Regions from separate parts of the Homo sapiens genome. Here all the other regions are linked to region 1. The links are contacts of gene promoters, found by promoter capture Hi-C in blood cells and fetal thymus (Javierre and others, 2016). All regions are on one chromosome and are shown on one strand. The core of a region is centred on a gene start or on the middle of the fragment in contact, and the rest is flanking DNA. Distances in the headings are between cores, read along the strand shown. Region 1 holds the start of NSMCE3 (NSE3 component of SMC5/6 complex). Region 2 overlaps APBA2 (amyloid beta precursor protein binding family A member 2). Region 3 holds the start of ENTREP2 (endosomal transmembrane epsin interactor 2).

Evidence for each region. Contacts are between HindIII fragments. The CHiCAGO score rates a contact against its expected background, and 5 or more counts as called.
Region 2: a contact is called between a fragment that was not itself captured here and the fragment with the promoter of NSMCE3 in region 1, in 1 of 17 cell types (total CD8 T cells). The highest score is 6.0, in total CD8 T cells.
Region 3: a contact is called between the fragment with the promoter of ENTREP2 here and the fragment with the promoter of NSMCE3 in region 1, in 1 of 17 cell types (endothelial precursors). The highest score is 8.6, in endothelial precursors.

What each region holds. Positions count from the first base shown.
Region 1 is chr15:29,268,126-29,271,532 of GRCh38, forward strand. NSMCE3 (NSE3 component of SMC5/6 complex) reads right to left here and starts at 1,697. Exons shown (of 1, transcript NM_138704.4): 1 at 1-1,697. The coding sequence starts at 1,580. The coding sequence ends at 666. The region is part of intron 2 of ENTREP2 (endosomal transmembrane epsin interactor 2); the gene reads right to left. RefSeq lists enhancers at 992-1,493, 1,494-1,993. The HindIII fragment of the contact is 8,019 bases long and covers 1-3,193 here.
Region 2 is chr15:28,903,348-28,906,754 of GRCh38, forward strand. All of the region lies in intron 1 of APBA2 (amyloid beta precursor protein binding family A member 2), which reads left to right. Among named protein-coding and RNA genes, the nearest start is that of APBA2, 19 kb to the left of the region's middle. RefSeq lists enhancers at 1-367, 368-867. The HindIII fragment of the contact is 217 bases long and covers 1,783-1,999 here.
Region 3 is chr15:29,569,314-29,572,720 of GRCh38, forward strand. ENTREP2 (endosomal transmembrane epsin interactor 2) reads right to left here and starts at 1,666. Exons shown (of 11, transcript NM_015307.2): 1 at 1,192-1,666. The coding sequence starts at 1,410. The HindIII fragment of the contact is 6,565 bases long and covers 1-3,407 here.

The sequences.
Region 1 (3,407 bases), core at 447-2,946:
ACGATTTAAAAAACACACAATGCTTAAGTGCTTCAAAAATACAGTATTTATTGTAATAACTACAGTAGCAAGAAGAAAAAAACGAAGTGGAACTACGTGTTTAGCAGCAGAGCTGAATAATTATGAATATAAACAATTACTATTGGGAGAAAATACATTACACTCATTGCTTGGAACCATGAATAATACTTATATATGTACGAAATATAGAAAAATAAAATAGGTTAACATAATAAGGATATAGGCAATTATTTTTTTTAATTTTATAAAAACTTTTATTTTTCCTTACAAACTGGGGTAGTTAGGAGACCTGATAATAGCTTTTTTATTTTCTTGGCACCAAAGCAACTTACTTATGTGTTCCTTCTTGCATTATCTGTTCCAGATCATAGTCAAGTTTTCCAATTCGTTTTACTAAGCTAGCAAAATTTTTTATACCAAAAAGAGTAAAATCAAAACAAATGCTCCTTTGTTTATAGATGAAAATCTGGAGCAAAATAACACAACATTAAAAAAACAAAACTTTGCAAACACATCCTAAAGCTACACACATTGAAGCGTTTACAGCAATATGCTCCCTGGGTTCGTTCTCCCTTCCCCCAATCCTCTAAACTGTGCCTTTGGGTCTCAGACCCTTGTCCCGGGGGTCCCTCTGAATCCACCTTTCAAGAGGATGGAGCTGGGCCACTAGGCTGAGGTCTGGCCCTGTTCTCCTCATCTGCCAAAGCCTCACAGTACTGCGCTGGCCAGTCCTTGGGGTCTTGATTATGGACCTTGGCCACAAACTTAAGAACTTTCATCTTGCTGGTTTCCAGGTTGGTTCGCGGGCCCCACTGGAATTCGTAGTCGACGGGGTCGGTGTGGGGTATCCGCCGGTATTCCAGGTAACGCTGTCGCACAAAGTCCTCAGTAATGAGTTTCTTTGGATCTCCGAAAATTAAATGCTTCTTGGTGGGGTAGACCCCTAAGCGCCGCAGAAAGTCCCAGGCTTCAGTTTCCTTGATGGTGTTGCCCTTCATAAAGATGAGCCCTAAGACGATCATCAGGAGGCCCGTAGTGGGCGTGCCTTGGTCACCCCTCATCTCGGCATCCTCCTCCACAGGCTCCAGGGTGTTGATGAGGATGTAAGTGTTGCTCTTGGGTTCAAGTTCCACCAGCTTATACCCGAAGACGTACTGGAGGCGCTCGGCGGCCCGTTTGAAGAGGTCGGGGAAGATGTCCTTGTAGTCCCCGATGACGTGCTTCAGTATGTCGGCCCGCTTGATCGGAATCTTCTTCTGGTCTTTAATCAGCAAGAACTGCACCAGCTCGGACACTTTCAGCTCCAGCTGCTTCTGGCTCCTGGGCCCCACGGCGGGGGCGGCCTGGGCCCGGCGGGCGCCCTGAGGCGAGGGGCCCTGCGACCCCTGCGAGCCGCCCGGCCCGCGGGACGTGCTCGGGGCCTCCTCGGCAAAGCCGTCTCTGAGAACCCGGGCGTCTTCCCCGGCCCGCGAAGCCCCGGGGTTTCCGCTATGGCTCCAGTCTCTGTCCCTCTCGGCCTGGCCGCCAGAGCGGCCCCGGTTCCTCGGTTTTTGCAACATGTCTCCGGCGGCAGGTGCCGGCGCACACTCCGGTAGGCAAGCAGCCGCGGCGGGGATTGCGGGTCGGCGACCCGCTAACGCCGGTGCCTGGAGGCGCGCGCAGTGTCGGCTGAGACTGCGTGCTGCGTCATGAAGCCTGCGCCTTGCGTCAGGGCGGCTGGGCGGTGCGCCTGCGCGGCTGCGGCGGGTACCAAAAGGAACAGCGTTTTCCGTGCAGCCCTGCAGGTCCGGGCGATGATTTTTAGTATAGTGAAGTGTTGTTACCAAACCATGCAAACAGAGAGCGAGAACCGAAACTCCTAAACAAGTGTGTCGCTAAATTCAGACCACACAGGCTCAGGCAAGTTTTACAGACAGTATTATGAGTTTCTAAATCGGGAGCATTTGTAAACGGAAAGAATTCAGAGGATGAACGTGTGAGAAAAAAAAAAGGTGAAGAGGAAGGGCCGACCGTGGAAGTAAAGTAAAAACATTTATTTCTACACAAAATGTAGAAGGACATAAAAGACCCAGAGGGCTCTTAGTTTTCGTCCCTCCACCCAATTTCATACCCTCCATCCCACTGCCCCCAGTTACTTTCTCTAATGCCCCGTGGAGTCTGTTAAAAACCAAAGTCGGCTGCAGGCTTTCTGCGCAAGCAGGACTTCAGTTTCACTATTTCCGTATTTATATTCTCTGCATTAAACTCCTTTAGCTAGACAACTATGAGAAGACCACAAAAAACGTGTCAGTATTAGGTAAATGTTTTAGCTTGGTCACATGGGTTTATCTTTTGGAAAACAACTGCTTTCGTCACAACCACAATTTTAGCAGAAATGGGTAAGAGGAATGCTGCAAACAAACGTGCACTCTCAAGAGATTACTACTTAATTTGGGGCATCACTGATCAAGAATTGCAATAATGTGGAGCTCTTAAATTTCTTAATTCATAATATATTAGCTTTGAGGAAAAAAAAGAGAACACTGGGGGATTTATCTCTCATCTATGATGTGATATACAGTCTCTACTGTATATTTTAATTGTGCAACTCAAGTAGCCAAAATGAGTCATTTCATTAACTCAAACCATCAGCAGTCTGCTGCCATGACTTCTACAGATCTTAGCAAATTTGTTTCTTCTCTATTTACTTGCAAAGAAGAAACTGAATTTCCCTGTGTCTTTTTAAAGCTACCCAGAAAGTGGATAAACTCTTCAAAGAACCAAATTGAGTTCCTCTTTAATGCAAATATATTCAAAGGAAAGCAATTTAGAACACATTATCTGAGTAATAGCATCAAACACAACCTTATTAAAATTTTGTTAATTGTTAGTAGCATAACACTTTTGTTTGTAATTCAGTAGGAAAATGCAATCTGATAATGGCACTGGAACTGCAATAGTAAATGTAAAATCATATTCCATGAACTAATGCAAGTATGCTAAAATCTGGTATGCAATGAGTAATAACTTACTGTTCCACACAAGATGCAACTATATCCTCAGGCATCAATTTTAATGACAAAGGCCTACTATGAAAAACAAATATATTATCAAGGCATTCATTTTTTTACAATGAGAAAATTCATCTGCTTCAGTTTCCTTGCAAATTAAAATCTGGACTTAGGTTCATAGAAGCTTCCTGCCATCTAGAATTCTGCAAAAGGTCCCTACTGCAGGATGTGGATGTTGTATTGAGGGAATAGAGAGACCGTCTCATATTGTTTTATATTGTTTTATACTCAGTACCTGTTTTAAGAAAAAACAACAAGGAAGTAAAACCAAATACAGGCAGCCCAGCGCCAGGCCCAAAACCAGGCCTGGGCCTGCCTGGCCTAAACCCAGTAGTT
Region 2 (3,407 bases), core at 641-3,140, 360 kb before region 1:
AGAGCCAACATCTTCATGAACTGGGCTGGCACCTGAGCATTTATGGCCATGGCCTAGCTGAGTAGCTGGTCGATCCACTTTGTTCCTGCAGAAAGGGTGGCCTGCTGGGGACACAGAAAAACAGCCCTGGCCACTGAAATGGCCATTTCAGCTTCAAGTTACATAAGCGTCAGCGCCTGTATTTGTGGTGGAGGCCCAGGATGAAATGAAATATTGCCCAGGGAGGGCAGAGCTGCAGTCCTGTAAATGGGCGGGGACCCCGTGGTCTTGTGGAGTCAGCAGGGACAGCTGCGGTTTAGTGGAGAGTCAGAGGGGCCTTCCTGGGACCCCACTGCCTCCCTACAGTCCAGCTTGCGGCTGGCAATGACATCCACTTTGCAAGATGATGTGAGTCATGACAGAGCCAGGACCTGGCACAGGGGAGGTGCTGGGTGAGGGACAGGCAGTGCTCTGTGGTGGGCCAGTGGTGGGAAGGACCCTTCTGGAAGGCGGAAGACCTACACTGCCGGGGCCCTGGGCAAGTCACAGCCTCCTCACTTGTCCCTGAGGAGGGACAAGGACAAGTCAGAGGAAGTGATTCCTACGGGTCTTACCACTCATCCGGATTTTGTGACAAAATTAGGTTGAACCATATGAAACTGTTATTTCTGTATGTCAAAAAGTGATCCAATATAGGCAACTTCATATGCCTCAACTCAGCAGTTTAGCATTACAGCGATTTTTGGCAAGAGAGAACACTTTTATTTAAAAAACATTATTTTTAGTTATCACATATGAATTCATTCATTGTATTGGAAAACAGAGATAGCAGAAAGCGAAAGGAGGAAGCTTTGAGATACCAGACTCCACCCGCCGGGGGCCCTCCTGTTGTTTGCCCACGATTCCTCCCTGTTCCTGGGCACCCCGGCTCCCAGCATTCCTTCTCCTGGACGGTATATGAGGAGCACTTTCCACACTCATGGACGGTTTCTTCCACACCCAGCCATACGAGTTTGTCCTTTCTGGAGCTGGATCCCAGGGTTGGACATTAAATTTGTTTAGAATGTTTTTCTGCTATGAATGAATGCTGTAATAAATATCCTTGTAGTTGTGTTTTTTGTTTTTTATTGGCAGATATTCATGATCCCTTACTATAAATTTACAAGAGTAGAATTGCTGGGCAAAATGTTAAGGCTTTTGATTGACATCTGGAAAGGTTTTATTACCCACTGACAGTGAGAGTGAGGGGTTGCCCTCCCCTCTTCCTTCCTTTTCCCTCTTCCCTTCCACCCATTTGATGGTACACCATTGAGCAGCATCCAGCAAACAGTGTTGGTGGCTCCCCTCGTTATCTGCAGCACGCAGACTCCCTGTGTCCAGCAAACAGCGTTGCAGCACCCCTCAGTGTCTGCAGCACGCAGACTCCCTGTGACCCAGCTTCCTAGGCTGGCTGGTGGTGTTTGGAGAGGAAATCAAGAACGTGTGGGGAAGCCCGTGGAGAATTTTAGAGACTTCCCATGACACACGAGGCAGTGGGAGTGGGGCTGGAGAGAGACTGTTAGTTATTCCAGGGAGAGAGGCCTTTTCTGATTGTCCCACTCACCAGCACACTGAGGGGCTGGGCCGCTGACCTGATGGGTTGGGGACCAGAGCCCTGGCTTATGTGCAGTTGTTTCTTTTGAACATGTCTTATTTTGCTGGTGATCTGGCAAGTAGGTTGAAACCAAGCCCTCCCCCAGTTCCTCAACCGCCTGGGACTGCACAGGTGCCTGGGAGTCTGATGGCTGGCAGGCTGCCTTTTGAAGCTTGGCCTGGTGTCCCGGAGCTGTTGGTTGCCCTAGGAATCCAAGGAAAAGCTGCTGAATTCTGCGGCCCCAGGAGGATCTTTGTCCTCCTTTTGCAGAAGCAATAGGTGGATTTGCTCTGTTGAGCTGGAAGGAGGAATTTTTAGATTTCCTCTGGCTGAAGAAGTTAAAATGGAACCATCTACATCAATTCCCCGCAATTGGACTTTGAAGCAAGCTTTCGGAAGAACGGACTTGACTATTTTCTATGCGTGGAAGCAAATTCCTTGGGAACTTCTGGTGAATTTTAAAGTGCTTGTCTATTTTGTTTCATTCTCCAATACTGAGAAGTCTTTAATAACTAGAGGCTGCCTGGGTAGGTCAAGGTCTGAGGGGCAGCACTCCCCACCAGAGCTAGTCATTAAATAGATCTGCCATCTGTAGTTTTTGTTTTGCATTTTGAGATGGAGGTGTTGCTATGTTGTCTCTAGGCTGGACTTGAACTCTTGGGCTCAGGCAATCCTCCCGCCTCAGTCTCCTGAGTAGCTGGGACTACAGGTACATGCCACCGCACCTGGCTTGATATCTCTGTTTTAAAAATGCTGTCTTCTAGCAATTATCTTGTATCTCTGGAGGAGAAAGGTGCCATTTTTCTGGCAGTGGAATTTGGGGCTGAGAAGGACCCTGGCTCCATCAATGGGGGCTGGCGTCTAACATGCTAGATTTTAAGATCCTTTAAATATTTTTTCTGATTATGAAATTAAAATGTACTAATTATAAGGGCTCGAACTTTACAGAAATGCATCATGTAGAATAGAAAATGAAAGCTTCCCCCCAAGTTTCACCACTGCCCCATTCAGTGCCCACAAGGATAATCATTATTCACAATTTGGTGGAGACTCCTCCCATTTTTTTTTTCTGTCTGTGGAAATATTTTACTTGTCTTTTACACAAATACATGTTTTAAAAGTATTTTTCAACAAAATGAGATCCTATTGTAAATAAGATTTGCAGTTCGATCCCCCAGCCGTGTGTCTTAGCCATGATCCCTTGTCCGTTGTGCATAGCAGCATTATTCTTTTTTAAAAAAAATTTACTTTAAGTTCTGGAATACACCTGCAGAATGTATGATAGACTAGATAAAGAAAGTGTGGCACATATACACCATGGAATACTATGCAGCCATAAGAAAGAATGAGTTCATGTCCTTTGGAGGGACTTGGATAAAGCTGGAAGCAGCATTATTCTCTCTGACACTTGCACAATATGTGACCGTTTACTTATTGAACTTTTGGGTTGTTACCATTTTTCTCACTTATGGAAAATGCTGACATGTGGAGTCTCGTACATTAAACTCTTGTGTCTGCATGGGGTTGTTTCCGTAGCATAGGTTCCTAGAAGTGGACTTGCTGGGCTGAATGGTTTGGGCATTCAGAGTGTCAACAGATATTGCCAAGTTGCTCTCTGGACAGGTGGTGACCATTTTAAATGATGCTGGTGTGTGGGGCAGCGGTGTCCCCACTGACACTCTCTGGACATCGACACTCTCTGGACATGATCAGTCTTTGTGGTTTCATTCAGTCATGTGGGTATAAAGTGATAGCTTATTTCATTTTGTATTTGTAAAAATTGTGAATGACAACA
Region 3 (3,407 bases), core at 416-2,915, 300 kb after region 1:
TTCCAGAGGCAATTTTGCTCAGATCTTATGGTAAAAGCCATGCAATGAACTTAAAAAACAAAGACCATTATGAAATAAACAAATAAGCAAAGCTGGACGAATTTTTCAAATTTTAAAACTCAAGAACAAATAGCAAACATTAGTTTTAAAGGATTGGTTTGGATTTCTGTAGATGGAAGTAAAACATACTGAGTTTACAAGCCTATGCGATGTATTTCAGCACGATCCACCAAATGCAGTTACAGATGTCAAGAGTTCTCAGAACAAGTGCCTCTCTTCATAAATATCTGCTCTGCATATATATCTCTCCCATTCCCATAACGTCCATTCTTTGTTAATATAGGAAAAAAACCGACTTTCATCAAAATGCTACAAAACGCCAAAAATTAACTCTTGGGGACAGTCACTTTAATCGAGACGTCTTTCTTCTATGGAGATTTGTTCACCACTGGCTTCTCTGATTTGGTGGTTAAGAGTCTGAAAATCGGTCATCCTTAAGGTCTGGAGCTCAGAAAGCACGCCGCCCCCCCTTGCCTGCCCCCTGCCCCAGGACGCCGGATGCGGGTCGCCTGCCCAGTCCCGTCGCCCACAAACCACGCCGTTCTGGGCGGACGCGGGAAACCAGAAGTCCCCGAAGCCAAGTCAGCGAGCGACCACAGGGGCCGCCCGGCCGATCCCCGATATCCGGGCTGACCCAAAACCCGACGGGAGGCGCCCCTCCCCCGCCCCCCCACCCCACCCCCCACCCCCACCGCCCCCGGTCAGGGCCGCCGCGAGGGTGAGAGGCGCGCCCACATGCTGCTCCGCTCCGGGTTCGGCTCCCACCTCCTCGCCTCGGCCGCGGCCGCTCGGATGGCGAGGTCGTGTCCCCGGCGCGCGCGGTCCCCGGCGCTCCCTCCGGCCGCTGCGGGCTCGGAGGACGGCGGGCGCCTGGCTGCTGTTTCCTCCAAGAAAAGTAACTCCGGGAATCAGCGCAATAGGAGCGGGAACGCGATGCTCCGAGAGCGGCGAGCCGGGCCCTGGAGTTATTCTGCTCGGAGTTTCGAACTGCGCCCCGCGCTGCAGCTACTCGGCCCCGGCGTTGGCCGCCGGAACTTGCCGCCCGCGGTGGCGTCCCGGCGGCCGCAGCGCCTAGCCCCCCCGGCCCGCGCAGTCCCCGGAGCCCGTCCCCGCCTGGTCGCGGACACTCACCGAGAAGCCTGCCCAGAAGGGGCAGGAGTGGCGGACGCGGGCCGAGGTGGTGAGCGCCAGCGCGGCGAAGCTGACTGCCACGATGAGGCATCCGAGCGCCATCTGCGTGGCCCCGAGCGCCAGCACGATGCGGGAGCGGCCCGGGCACTCGCGCAGGCGGGACAGGCTGCGGGGCAGCGCGGCGGGACGCGGCGCTCGGGGGCCGCCGGCCGGAGGCATCGCGCCGGGCGCCCGCACGCCTCGCCCGCTCCCGCCCGGCCCGGCGCGCGCCGCCGCCTCTCCTCACAGAGGGTCCGAGGCAAGTTGCGCCGGGTGCAGGGACGGCCTCCCAGCCGGCTGCCAGGGCTGCGGCGGCCGCGCGCCGGGAGCGGGCCGGGCCGGGCGGGGAGCCGGGCGCCCGCAGCCCCCGCCGGTGCCCGCGCCCATGCCGCCGCCGCCGCGCCGCCCGCCCGCCGGCCGCGCCGCGCTGCGCCCTCCCCCGCCCGCCCCGCGCGCTCCCCGGCCCGAGCGCGGGCGCGAGCCGCCGCCGCTGCTGCCGTACCGGGCGCGAGCCGCTGCCGTCCCCGGGCGCGAGCCCCGCCGCCGTGCGCTGGGCCCCAGCTGGGGCGGGAGCGGGAGCCGGGACCCGGGAGCCGGGAGAGGGGCGGGGAAGGCGCAGGTGCGGTCCTGGCGTCCCAGCCTCCGCGCTCACGCCTCGCGCCCTGGCGGCTGCAGGTCTGCGGAAGGAGAGCGGGGGCGGCAGCGCATCAAGGGCAACGGCATCAGCCTCCGCGGCGGAGCCCTGGGTCGGCTGCGCGGAGGGGCCCGATAGCGGCAGCGGGCCAGCCGAGCCTTCAGAGCCTGGGGACGGCTCGGGATGGGCGCGCGGGGCGCTGAGGACGGGGAGACGGGCTGGGAGCAGACAGGAGGGAAATTCCGAGCGCTGGGCCGCAGGTGTGGCGAACAGGAGCCTCTTGAATGCAAAAATCCAAGATCCAAGATGCTGCTTTTCTGCAGTTCGAGAATCTCCCAAGCCATCCGCTGAGAGAACTCAGCTCTGGAGGACATTCCGAGAACATTGCCAGGACACACACGATGTCCCTTACCCACCTTTGGTTTGCATGCTTTTGATACAAGTTAAAAGTTTGGGCTTTAAAAAAAAATTGCACAAAACGAATTTAAATGCGCAATATCATTAATAACCGATTAAACCATCTCCACTCCCTCTTGCCAACATAGAGTTTAAAATATCTAAGTACTGGCTCCCTTGGAATACCGGGAAATCCTGCAAGTTTTGATTGCCATAATTCCTTTGTGGCCCTGTTGATGAGCCAACTTTAAGACTCTGCTTGTGTTGAAAAGGGCTGCATTGACAGATTAAGAGATCACCAGCGTTAGGGAGTCTGAAGGGACCAGACGTGAAAAGGCAAAGTTCAGAGTAATAAAGGGAAACGGCCGGTCATTTCCTGAGACCATTCTTCCGTGTCTTTCTAGCAGACCTTACTGTTGGATGAGAAACGCTAGAGAGTGTAGTCCCAAAATATCTCGGTTGCTGGTGCTTGAAATTTCACCGTTAGAGATATTGATTCCTTTGGGGCTTGACGATCCTCTATTAAAATGCAAATTCCCCTTGAAGGGGCTATAGCTCAAGCCTTTATCAGCCAACACTTTAGCAGGGATGGGATTTATTTTCCAATTTAACGAGATGGCCAAGGGATGAACAGGGGGTAGGGAATTCCACAGATAGAGTGACTGATCTCAAAATGCTGGCCCGTGGCCAAACGCTGCCTTCTCCCCCAGTTCTTATCTTTAACAGGACTAAGCCTCTGGCCGGCATTGTTTAAAGCACTCCAGTACAAATTCCAATTTCCTGGAGACATTTTCTGCCTAGAAGTTCGCAGTGCAGCACTTTTTAAGAGCTTGAAACAATACAAGGCATGACCCTGGACTGGCAGGAAGTTATGTTCGCATTTGATCATCTCCCCCATTCATTCATTCATTCATTCATCCGTTCATTCATTCCTCCAACAAAAGTTCATAAAGAGCTCTCTAATCATAAGGCTTTTTTTTTTTTTACGTTCTTAGGGTACATCAGTGAACAAAACAGACAAAAATCCCTGCCTTTAAGGGATTCAGAGAGAAACACACAATAGCCTAACAAATTAGTGAATTACAGTTTATTGACATTGTATACTATTCAAAAAATAGTATACACCCACTATGTGCCAGGCACTGAA